Regions from separate parts of the Homo sapiens genome. Here all the other regions are linked to region 3. Evidence: promoter capture Hi-C in 16 types of primary human blood cells and fetal thymus (Javierre and others, 2016). All regions are on one chromosome and are shown on one strand. The core of a region is centred on a gene start or on the middle of the fragment in contact, and the rest is flanking DNA. Distances in the headings are between cores, read along the strand shown. Region 1 overlaps C19orf38 (chromosome 19 open reading frame 38). Region 2 overlaps CARM1 (coactivator associated arginine methyltransferase 1). Region 3 holds the start of ILF3 (interleukin enhancer binding factor 3).

What was found. Contacts are between HindIII fragments. The CHiCAGO score rates a contact against its expected background, and 5 or more counts as called.
Region 1: a contact is called between a fragment that was not itself captured here and the fragment with the promoter of ILF3 in region 3, in 5 of 17 cell types (neutrophils, naive CD8 T cells, activated CD4 T cells and 2 more). The highest score is 8.3, in neutrophils.
Region 2: a fragment that was not itself captured here is called in contact with the fragment with the promoter of ILF3 in region 3 in 1 of 17 cell types (neutrophils); the score reaches 5.1 in neutrophils.

What each region holds. Positions count from the first base shown.
Region 1 is chr19:10,852,015-10,855,984 of GRCh38, reverse strand. All of the region lies in intron 2 of C19orf38 (chromosome 19 open reading frame 38), which reads right to left. Among named protein-coding and RNA genes, the nearest start is that of C19orf38, 5.6 kb to the right of the region's middle. The HindIII fragment of the contact is 2,363 bases long and covers 973-3,335 here.
Region 2 is chr19:10,876,000-10,879,911 of GRCh38, reverse strand. The region is part of intron 1 of CARM1 (coactivator associated arginine methyltransferase 1); the gene reads right to left. Among named protein-coding and RNA genes, the nearest start is that of CARM1, 6.4 kb to the right of the region's middle. RefSeq lists enhancers at 82-924, 2,732-2,961, 3,142-3,291. The HindIII fragment of the contact is 1,353 bases long and covers 1,606-2,958 here.
Region 3 is chr19:10,652,725-10,656,280 of GRCh38, reverse strand. It overlaps ILF3 (interleukin enhancer binding factor 3), which reads right to left and starts at 1,935. Exons shown (of 20, transcript NM_017620.3): 1 at 1,794-1,935. ILF3-DT (ILF3 divergent transcript) reads left to right here and starts at 2,409. Exons shown (of 1, transcript NR_024333.1): 1 at 2,409-3,556. RefSeq lists silencers at 1,608-1,767, 1,848-2,087 and enhancers at 2,178-2,647, 2,888-3,057, 2,923-3,424, 3,425-3,556. The HindIII fragment of the contact is 11,918 bases long and covers 1-3,556 here.

The sequences.
Region 1 (3,970 bases), core at 905-3,404, 200 kb before region 3:
TTGCATAGGATAGATATCTTAGGCCAGGTGCGGTGATTCATGCCTGTAATCCCAACACTTTGGGAGGCTGAGGCAGGTGGATTACTTGAGGCCAGGGGCTCAAGACCAGCCTAGCCAACACAGGGAAATTCTGTCTATATTAAAAATATAAATAATTGGCCAGGCGCAGTGGCTCACGCCTGTAATCCCCACACTTTGGGAGGCCAAGGCAGGTGGATCACTAGGTCAGTAGATCGAGACCATCCTGGCTAACACTGTGAAACCCCGTCTCTACTAAAAATACAAAAAATTAGCCAGGCGTGCTGGCACGTGCCTGTAGTCCCACTTACTCAGGAGGCTGAGGCAGGAGAATCACTTGAACCCGGGAGGCGGAGGTTGCAGTGAGCTGAGATGGCGCCACTGAACTCCAGCCTGGGTGACAGAGCAAGACTCTGTCTCAAAAAGAAACAAACAAAACAAAAAACAACAAAACCCCACAAATAATTAGCCAGGTGTGGTGCACACCTGTAATTCCAGCTACTTCAGAGGCTGAGGCACAAGAATAGTTTGAACCCGGGAAGTGGAGGGTGCACTGAGCTGAGATCGTGCTACTGCACTCCAGCCTGGGTGACACAGAGAGACCCCATCTGAAGAAACAAACAAAAAAAGAGATGGCTGGGCACGGTGGCTCACGCCTGTAATCCCAGCCCTTTGGGAGACTGAGGTGGGTGGATCACCTGAGGTCAGGAGTTCGAGATCAACCTGGCCAACATAGTGAAACCTCGTCTCTACTAAAAATACAAAAATTAGCCAGGTGTTACGTGCCTGTAATCCCAGCTACTTGGGACGCTGAGGCAGGAGAATCGATTGAACCCAAAAGGTGGAGGTTGCAGTGAGCCGAGATTGGGCCATTGCCTTCCAGTCTGGGTGACACAGCTAGAATCTGTCTCAAAAAAAAAAAAAAAAAAAAAAAAAGAATATATATCTGAAGCTTCAGGGCACAATCTTGCCTCCATGAGGGGGAGAAACTACCTGAGAATAAGACAGAAGAGGAGCTGAGAAGGCAAATGCTTTCTGTCATTTTTCAGCACCTGGATCCAGCCATATCTGAAGTCAGCCATGTAAACTGACTTCAGCTCAGTGAACCAACAAATCCCCTCTTGCTGGTAGAGCCAGTGTGAGTCAGGTTTTTATTACTTGCAGTCTGGGTGCCAGTGGCCAGATGACATCCACCCCCAGCCCAACGGTAGACCCTGAGATCCACCCAGAAGCTAGTCACACAGGCATGGGAGTGGCAGTTCCAGAGTCACCTTCTCAGCACAAGACTTCGCTTCCCCTTCCTGGAGAAAGAGGAGATGCCCTGACCCCAAGGGAGGTGAGGAGCTAAGCCAGAAGAGGGAAGAAGACAGACGCTTGGTATTCTCACAATGTCAGCCTTGTTCATTGATTCACCTGGGGCAGAAGGGGTGTTGTCAGCTCCCTACTCCAAGGCCACAAGGCCAAGGTGAGAGAAGGGGGCCTTTGATAGAGGAGCCTGAGGCCGGGAAGGACAGAGAACTGCCCTGTCATAGCTGCATGTTGGCCTCGGCTGGCAACAAGATTATTTTTTGCAGTGAAAAAGTTCTTTTTAAAAGTTTTTTTGGGCCAGGCGCGGTGGCTCATGGCTGTAATCCCAGCACTTTGGGAGGCCGATGTGGGCGGATCACTTGAGGTCAGGAGTTGAAGACCACCCTGGCCAACATGGTGAAACCCCATCTCTACTAAAAAATACAAAAATTAGCAGGGTGTGGTGGTTGGCGCCTGTAGTCCCAGCTACTCGGGAGGCTGAGGCACGAGAATCGCTTGAGCCTGGGAGGCAAAGGTTGCAGTGAGCCGAGATTGGGCCACTGCACTTCAGCCTGGGCGACAGAGTGAGACTCTGTCTCAAAAATTAAAAAAAAAAAAAAGTTTTTACAGACAGGGTCTCCCTCTGTCACCCAGGCTGGAATGCAGTGGTGCGATCATGGCTCACTATATCCTCTACCTCCCCGGCTTAAGTGATCCACCTGCCTCAGCCTACTGACACATGCCAGCAGTCCCTCCTAATTAAAAAAAAAAAAAAAAAAACATTAGCCGGACGGGGTAGCTCACGCCTGTAATCTCAGCACTTTGGGAGGCTGAGGTGGGCGGATCACAAGATCAGGAGATTGAGATCATCCTGGCTAACACTGTGAAACCCCTTCTTACTAAAAAAAAAAATACAAAAAATTAGCTGGGCATGGTGGCACATGCCTGTAGTCCCAGCTACTCGGGAGGCTCTGAGGCAGGAGAATCGCTTGAACCCGGGAGGCAGAGGTTGCAGTGAGCCGAGATCGTGCCACTGTACTCCAGCCTGGGCGACAGACCGAGACTGTCTCAAAAAAAAAAAAAAAATTGGGGGGAGCTGGGCATGGTGGCTCACGCCTGTAATTCCAGCACTTTGTGAGGCCGAGGCAGGCAGAACACCTGAGGTCAGGAGTTTGAGAGCAGCCTGGCCAGCATTGTGAAACCCCATCTCTACTAAAACTCAAAAAGTAGCTGGGCATGGTGGTGCACGCCTGTAATCCCAGCTACTCGGGAGGCTGAGGCAGGAGAATTGCTTGAACCTCGGAGGTAGAGGTTGCAGTGAGACTCGAGAGGCTGAGGCAGGAGAATTGCTTGAACCTCGGAGGTAGAGATTGCAGTGAGCTGGGGTCACACCACTGCACTCCAGCCTGGGCGACAGAGTGAGTCCCTGTCTTTACAAAAAATAGACATATTAGCCAGGCGTGGTGGTGCACGGCTGTAGTCCCAGCTGCTAGGGAGACTGAGAAGGGAAGATTGATTGAGCCCAGGAAGTGGAGGCTGCAGTGAGCTGTGATTGCGCCACTGCACTCTAGCCTGGTCAACAAAGCAAGACCCCTATCTAAAAAAAAAATAAAATAATTTTTTTTTTTTTTTGTAGAGACAGGGTCTCACTATGTTGCCCAGGCTGATCTTGAACTCCTTGGCTCAAGGAATCGTCCTGCCTCAGCCTCCCAAAGTCCTGGGCTTATAGGCGTGGGTCATTGCACCCGGCCAGGAAAGTTCTGACTGATGGTAACACAGAAGGCCACCAAAGGCTCCTCCCTCCTGCTTCTTGACCCATAACCCATGTCCAGCCTCCTCATTCAGAGATCAGAAAAGGACATCAGCCCTGCCAGGGTTCCCTCACTCAGGTGAAAAGATCGAATCCTTGCTGTGGTCTACAAGACCCCCCACGATCCTCCTGGTGAACTCCCTGCCCCGCCTCTCCCCATTTTCCTCCTTGTTCACCATCCTTCAGCCATACTGGGCTCCTCAGACACACCAGGGAAGCTTCAGCCTCGGGGCCTTTGCACATCCTGTATCCTCTGCCTGCAACACATGCCCTGGATATCCACATGATTGGCTCCTCCTCATCATTCAGTTTTTTGCTCAAATGCCACCTCCTCAGAGAGGGCTTCCCTGATTGCCCTACTCTACTTCAGAGTCCAGAGGGCTGACCATTAGAACATGGGGCCAGTCGCCCTACTCTACTTCAAATAATGACATCCTCACCCAGGTGGATTTCATCTGGTGCCCTGCTGGCAGGTTGAATATATATTGGATTTCATGTTTATCATCTGTCCTCATCCGCCTGGAATGTCAGCCTGGAATGTCTTTGGGCAAGCCCAAAGACAGTTCTTGGTCCATAGTAAGTGCTCAGAAACCTTATGTGGCTCATGCTGGGCATGGTGACTCACATCTGTAATCCCAGCTACTCTGGAGGCCGAGGTGGGAGGATCACTTGAGGTTAAGAGTTCAAGACTAGCCTGGTCAATATCTTTTTTTTTTTTGAGACAGAATCTTGCTCTGTCACCCATGCTGGAGTGCAATGGCACTGTCTTGGCTCACTGTAACCTCCGCCTCCCAGATTCAAATGATCCTCCTGCCTCAGCCTCCTGAGTAGCTGGGATTACACACGCATGCCACC
Region 2 (3,912 bases), core at 1,033-3,532, 220 kb before region 3:
TGGGTGCGGTGACTCATGCCGGTAATCCTAGGACTTTGGGAGGCCAAGGCAGATGGATCACTTGAGGTCAGGAGTTCAAGACCAGCCTGGCCAAAAGGGTGAGACCCCCGTATCTACTAAAAATACAAAAATTATCTGGGTGTGGTTGCACGCACTTATAATCCTAGCTACTTGGGAGTCTGATGCAGGAGAATGACTTGAACCTGGGAGGCTAGAGGTTGCAGTGAGATGACATTGAGCCACTGTGCTCCAGCCTGGGTGACAGGGCGAGAATTCATCTCCAAAAAAACCAAAAAAATCCTCGATTCCAACCCAGCCCTGTTTCCACTTTTAGCCCCTCCACTCCTCACAGGGGACCCTGTGCTCCAAGCCAGGTGGCTGTCTCCAGCCCTGGCCCACTGGAGCACCTCTCCATAACCCAGAAACGTCCTTCCCAACATTCTGGCCAGGTCCAGATCCTACCCACTGTGGCCAAGGTGACTCCCTGTATGTTCTCTCTTTGTCCATGGAAACTGGAACCCTAAATTCAGCTGAGCACATGGCCGCTCAGATTGAAAACTACATTTCCCAGCATCCCTTGCAGCTGGCAGTGATCATGTGACTACATTCTAGCCAACAAAATGAAAGCTGAAGCACCTTGCATCAGCTACCGGGAACCTTTCTTAACAAACACCTGGATGTGACCTTTGCACCCTTTCTCCTTTGTCCCTTCCTCTGTCCTGCTGTCTGGAAGCCAGGGTGTAATGGCGGGACTCCAGCAGTCATGCTGAAACCTGAGGACAAGACCTCACCTTAAGAATGGTGGAGGATCAGCCTGGGGCAGTGGCCTGTAATCCCAGCACTTTGGGAGGCCGAGGCGGGTGGATCACCTGAGGTCAGGAGTTTGAGAACAGCCTGGCCAACGTGGCGATACCCCGTCTCTACTAAAAATACAAAAATTAGCCAGCCGTGGTGGCACACGCCTGTAGTCCCAGATACTTGGGAGGCTGAGGCAGGAGAATCGCTTGAACCCGGGAGGCAGAGGATGCAGTGAGCTGAGATCACACCACTGCACTGCAGCCCCTGGGCAACAGAGCGAGACACCATCTCAAAAAAAAAAAAAAAGCCGGGGGGAGGACCTGGATCTGGGAACTTCCAAGAGCCCAGGAGACTTTGGCACCTGACAATCTTCACACTTTAGCATTAGAGCACAAAAAATAAAATGCCATCGTGTTTAATTAAGCCTCTGCTACTTTGGGTCTTTGTGATGAACAGATAAATGTCACTGAACCACTTATATATGCATTTAAGGTGGGCATCCAGTCACCCAGAATGCCAAAGCCATCTCTGCTGCCTGCCAACCACATCACTTTGGCCAGTCAAGTTCTTTCATTTCTGTTTTTCCACCAGTAAATTGGGGTTGGTATCTCTGACCTCACAGAACTCTTTTCAGAGTAAGTGGTAACATACAGTAAGCGCCACAATTGGCACAAGGGGCTCACACAATTCAGAAGTATGCTCTATTCGGCCTGAGGATTTTTTGGTTTCTCTTTTGGCTGGGGCCAAACTCCCCACAGACCCCAACTCCTGCCTGCCTCATTCATTTATCCCAGGGGTCTACAAGCTTCCCCTGCCTCGGGCCAGTGAGTAAATATTTCAGGTTTTGCAGGACACTGTGGTCTCAACTGATTATTGTTGTTTGTGGATTGGGTTTTAGTTTTTTTCCCTAATCAATCTCTCAAAAACTGTAAAAGCCTTTCTTAGCTTTGTCTGTACAAAAATAGGCCACACCGGGCCCAGCGGTTCGTGACTATAATCCCAGCTACTTCTGAGGCTCAGGCAGGAGGAGGATGGTTTGAGGCCAGGGGTTTGGGGCCAGCCTGGGAAACACAGCAAGACTCTGTCTCTAAAAAAATTGCTTAAATTAGCCAAGGGTGGTGACATGTGCTTGTAGTCCCAGCTACTTGGGAGGATGAGGCCAGAGGATCACTTGAGCCCAGGAGTTAGAGGCTGCAGTGAGCTACTAAAATACAAAAAATTAGCTGGGCATGGCGGCATGTGCCTGTAATCCCAGCTACTCGGGAGGCTGAGACAGGAGAATCGCTTGAACCTGGGAGGCAGAGGTTGCAGTGAGCCGAGATTGCGCCACTGCATTCCAGCCTGGGCAACAGAGCGAGATTCCATCTCAAAATAAATAAATAATAAAACACAGGCTGGGTGCGGTGGCTCGCACCTGTAATCCCAGCATTTTGGGAGGCTGAGGCAGGCAGATTATTTGAGGTCAGGAGTTCGAGGCCAGCCTGGCCAAGATGGTGAAACCCTGTCTCTACTAAAAATACAAAAATTAGCCAGGGTGGTGGCACAGGCCTGTAATCCCAGCTACTCAGGAGGGTGAGGCATGAGAATCACTTGAACCTGGGAGGTGGAGGTTACAGTGAGCCAAGACCATGCCATTGCACTCCAGCCTGGGCAACACAGTGAGACTCTGTCTCACTAATAAAATACAAACACAGATAAAAATAGGCCACAGGCTCAATGTGGCCCATAGGCCTAATTTATATCACTGCCCTTTCCCTAGCTGCCCCCAAGGTCAAGCATTTTGAGTCAACACAAGTTTATGCACAGTCTGGTACGGGATAAATGCTCAATAAATGACGGTATCCATTAGCCACACGCAGGCACCGCTGAAACACAAATGCCTTTCTGGGGTTACTAACTTTCCCTGTTGTCACTCCAGCTTGACACCGAGATGTCCTAAAGATGGGGCACATAACAAGCTCTTCTATACCCCTGCCCCAGCTGTCAGGGGGATCCCAGGAGTGTAACCAAAGGAAGTCACAAGGGCCCCTGGTTCGGTGACAGCAGGCCATTCTTCACCTTCTTTGGACAAAGGGTTTTTCTCTGAACTTTCCACCCCATGGCATGCCCCTCACAAACTGAAGTTTAGCCCCTGACGGAGCCCATGCTGCTGTGTAAGCTTCTGAGCCAAGGGGATGGGAGAGTCTAAAGCACTGGCCACACTGACTCGTGCTGACCAAGAAAGAAAAGTGACACAGTCATTTCCAGAAAGAGCGCCACAGGGCTGGGGAAGTGAGAGTTTGTTCTGTTCTCTTTCCCGGCACCCCTCCCTGAGAAACTGCCTCCTTTCCAAGGGAGGGCAGCCTATGCCCAGGAACTCCAGAGGCCATGCCAAAGCTTCCTCAAGCCCAGGAAGCCCACGCCAAAGGGCCTCCCCCTCTGCACAGGGAAAATGGCCTGGTGTTGGTAGTTGCCATTTGGCCAATCTCATGGACGTAGGCCAGGGTGACTTCAGATGGCAAGAAGTAACTGTTCACTACAGAGTGACAGAGACAGGCCCTTCTGCAGCTGTCATCCTTCCCCTGGAGGGTGCAGACGTCAAGGAACAGGGCTGGAAGTCCTCCCCACGTGCCTCTCCTGGGCCTCCTATGTTAGGTACAGATCATGGCCCAGGACTCCCTCCCATGGCCGGTGAGCCAAGACAGCGGGGCAGCCCTGGAGCATAGGGGGCTCCTCCTAGAAAAGCTAGCTCATTCCCATGCCACACCAACGAACACTGCTGTCAGTAACATGGACATAAATATTTATTGGCCGGGCGCAGTGGCTCACGTCTGTAATCCTAGCACTTTGGGAGGCCAAGGCAGGAGGACTGCTTGAGCCCAGGAGTTCAAGACCAGCCTGGGCAAAATAGTGAGACCGCATCGCTAGAAGAAACTTAAAAATTAGCCATATGTGAGGCTGGTGGCGGTGGCTCACACCTGTAATCCCAGCACTTTAGGAGGCCAAGGTGGGCGGATCACCTGAGGTCAGGAGTTCGAGACCAGCCTGACCAACACGGAGAAACCCCATCTCTACTAAAAATACAAAAAAAATTAACCGGGCATGGTGGCACATGCCTCTAATCCCTGTAATCCC
Region 3 (3,556 bases), core at 686-3,185:
GAAAAAATAACAGACTTAGATTCCTCATGCTCAGGAATATGGGCCTTCAAGACCCTGAAAATACTAGAAGGAGCCAAAGGAATTTTTGCCTAGAGGCACCAAACAAGTTCAATCAGAAAAACCACAAACAATTAGGCACCTCTCAGCTCCAGGAAGACTCGGCTAAGCTCCAGGAAGATAGGGAGAGTGATAAATAGCGCCCAGTGGCGGCAAGGCCAAGCCTGGCAGTCATTGCTAGCCTCCAATCTGAACTAAAGAATATTCCAGACAACACTGGGGCCTGCAGACTCCATTCACAAATCCCAGGGACCAAGAGCCACCCACATAAGCAAGGGGCCCCAGCACCACGGAACAGGGAGAGGAGCACCTGCCAATGTCCTGCGGCCTCCTCCTGCTTTCCAGCTGTGAATGAGGCCCTGGTTCCCACACTTCATTCACAGTCTGGGCGGCTACTGTAACTACATCCCACGAGACCACACACAAAGCATCACGCACAAGGGACAGTGGCAGCACTCTGAGCAATCCATGGAGATTCCCATCCACAAATACCTGAGGAAAAGAGAGCTTAAAGTCCTAAATTTGAATCCTAACTTCGGATGGCACCTCGCGATTCCATGTGGACCACAAATATGCCATCACACCACTCATTTTAAAGAGAGCAAAATCTTGAAAAAGATTCAGCAGCAGTGAATTACCGGAGTCCAGAAAAAGAAACCACTGAAACCGACGCTTCGTTGCTGATCCATGTCACCTAAGCAGCAACTGGCAAACAATGTTGGAAATGTGGAGAAGAGATCCCTCATTCTCCTCAAATTTGGCCACTGAACTGGGGGAGGAGCATGCAGACCGCCGTACACCCCAAATAATTCATCCAGGCGGTGAATTAACTGGGGCAGAACCTCATGAGTAACCTCGAGAATCTCAATCGTTCAACTACTTGAGAAAATAAAGGTAGAAATGGGTTTTAAGCATCCACGTTTCGGGGCCCAGGCTTGCACCCAAGTAGATTGCCGGTCTAGAGAAGGCAAATACTAACAATCTGGAAAAACATTCAACAATGAAAACAAACTAACTAAAGAAAAAGCTGAAACCCTCTCAAGTTTTGACCCTGATCTGAGAGAGGCCTGGCTGACCAGAGATTTGGAAACCCGACGAACCCACAAAGGCTTCCTCAGCAATCCGCGTGGGAAGGGGCTTCCAAGGAGGGGGTCCGCCTCTCCGCGACCTGTGAGGACAAAGGAGGCGACTTTTCCCGCCTCGGGAACCTGGGACTCTCCTGGAATCGGGGGCGGGACCGGGACAAAGAGGAGGAGGGGGTAGGGAAGGAGTGAGGAAGGGGGGTCGCCCCGCCGCGGAACTCGGGACCCGAGGGGGTGTGTGCTCCAAGCACGTGCGCGCGTCCCCAGGACCCCCGCAACAGACAAAAGCCCAGCCGCGGGGAGGCGGCAGCCGGGGGCCCGGTGCGCGCGCACCCCCCCGCGCGTGGCGCCGCCGCCGGCCGAGGGGCCGCGTGCGGGGGGGAGCGGCTGCGCGCGCACCGAGTCCTCGCCGCCGCCGCAGCCGCCATTTTGTTTCCTCCGCACAATGGAAGAGAGTTAACGGCCGAGCGCGGGAGCGAGGCCGGCAAGGGAGGAACGGGCCAGGCGCCGGGATGAGGGAACCGGGCGGAGGCGGCGAGCGTGGGATCCCTCCAGCCTTGTCACCGCGAACCCTCAGTGGGGATCTCACTGAGGGCGGGCGGGGGGAGGGGCAGAGGCGGGAGCGGGCCCGGCCGCCGCCACATTGACGCTTACCTTGTCGGCGTCCCCTTCTTCGACCGCAGCCGCCGCCGCCGCCCTCCTGCCACAGCCCGCCGGGGTCTGCCCCCAAAAGCCACGCGGTGCGCGCCGGGCTGCTGGGTCCAACTGCAATGGCGAGAAGAGGAGGAGGAGGAGTCCGGACCGGGGGCGAGCGGGCGGGCGGGCAGGCGCGCGCCGGGGAGGTGCGGGAACACGTGACCGGCTGAAGCCCCGCCCCCTTTGACGCCGCGTTGCGCCTCGACGCAGGCCCAACCCAAATGGGAGGGAGGGGCGAAAAGAGATAAGGGGGGGGCTGAGGGGGTGGGCGTGAGTTGCACGTGGTGCAAGCGGGAGTGTTTGCGTGCGTAGTCACGTGACTTCGGCACCTTTCCCTCCGCTTTCGATAGGTTGCTCCATCATGTGACAATGGCGAATTTCGCGGTTTCCTTCGCCATCTGACAACTTTTGGCGCCTTCCCTTTGCCGTACTGGGAGTCCTCCATCACGTGACGAGGGCACGCTCTGGTTTTCGCTAAGGCGTTTTTTGAGCGGCCATTACCACGTGATGCAAGGCAAGCGTCAGAGGCGGAGCCTCCCTACGGCTGCGACATTTTGCGCCTGCGCGGCCGCCATCTTACGCCCGTCGCCCTGAGTACGTTAGCGGAAATGGCTCCGAGAGGCTTTGACGCATGTGTACCTTTTTAGTGGCGGTATCTCGGCCGGGGATTTTCGGGCTCCAGTGGAGGTGGCTATGCTCACCCCATCTCCCTTGAGAGGCACAGAAGGTTAGAGATGTGTGCGAGGAACGGCCAGGTCCAGCGTCTCCTCGTTGCTGCCCCTTGAGCCCGGGACCGGCGCCAATGCGCGCCCGGGTTCTTGGGTTCTTTCGTCCCGCAGACCTGCCTTGGTGTGGCGTCCCTGGGCCGTAGCTTCCGAAGGCTGCAGCCGACCTGGTCGGGGTCCTCTAGCCCGCCTTCCCCTTCCCCCATTGACAGATGGAGAAACTGAGGCCCAGGCCAAAAAATATCTCACTAGAGGGCTCACCGCCATTTCCTGGAAAAATTGGGGCTGGGACTCAACGGACGCTCGTCCAGCAGCAGCGCGGAGCTCCGAAGTAAAGGCGCCCGTGACCGAGTGCTTTGTCCTTACAAGCGTGGTGTTCTTGAATGCTTCCAGGCGCCTTATGAGGCCCCCGATGTACAATCTGTGCTTAACTAAACCCCACTGTCTTCCAGGGTCAGGTTGGCCATCCGCAGGCGTAGTTGCTAGGAAGGTTTGACAGATGTCCGCCTGTTGATTCAGACGTTCCCAGGATTTGGAGCAAGAAGAGCAAGGAAGGCCAGGCGCGGTGGCTCACGTTTGTAATCCCAGCACTTTGGGAGGCCGAGGCGGGCGGATCACGAGGTCAGGAGTTCGAGACCAGCCTGGCCAGCATGGTGAAACCCCGTCTCTACTAAAAATACAAAAGAAAATTAGCCGGGTGTGGTGGCACATGCCTGTAGTCCCACCTACTTGGGAGGCTGAGGCAGGAGAATTGTTTGACCTGGCAGGCGGAGGTTGCAGTGAGCCGAGATTGCGCCACTGCACTCCAGTCTGGGCGACAGAGCGAGACTCTGTCTCAGAAAAAAAAAAGAGCAAGGAGGTGTTGAAAATGGGTTTCCTGGCTGGGCGTGGTGGCTCACGCTTGTAATCCCAGCACTTTGGGAAGCTGAGGTGGGCGGATCACTTGAGGTCAGGAGTTTGAGACCAGCCTGGCCAACATGGTGAAACACCGTCTCC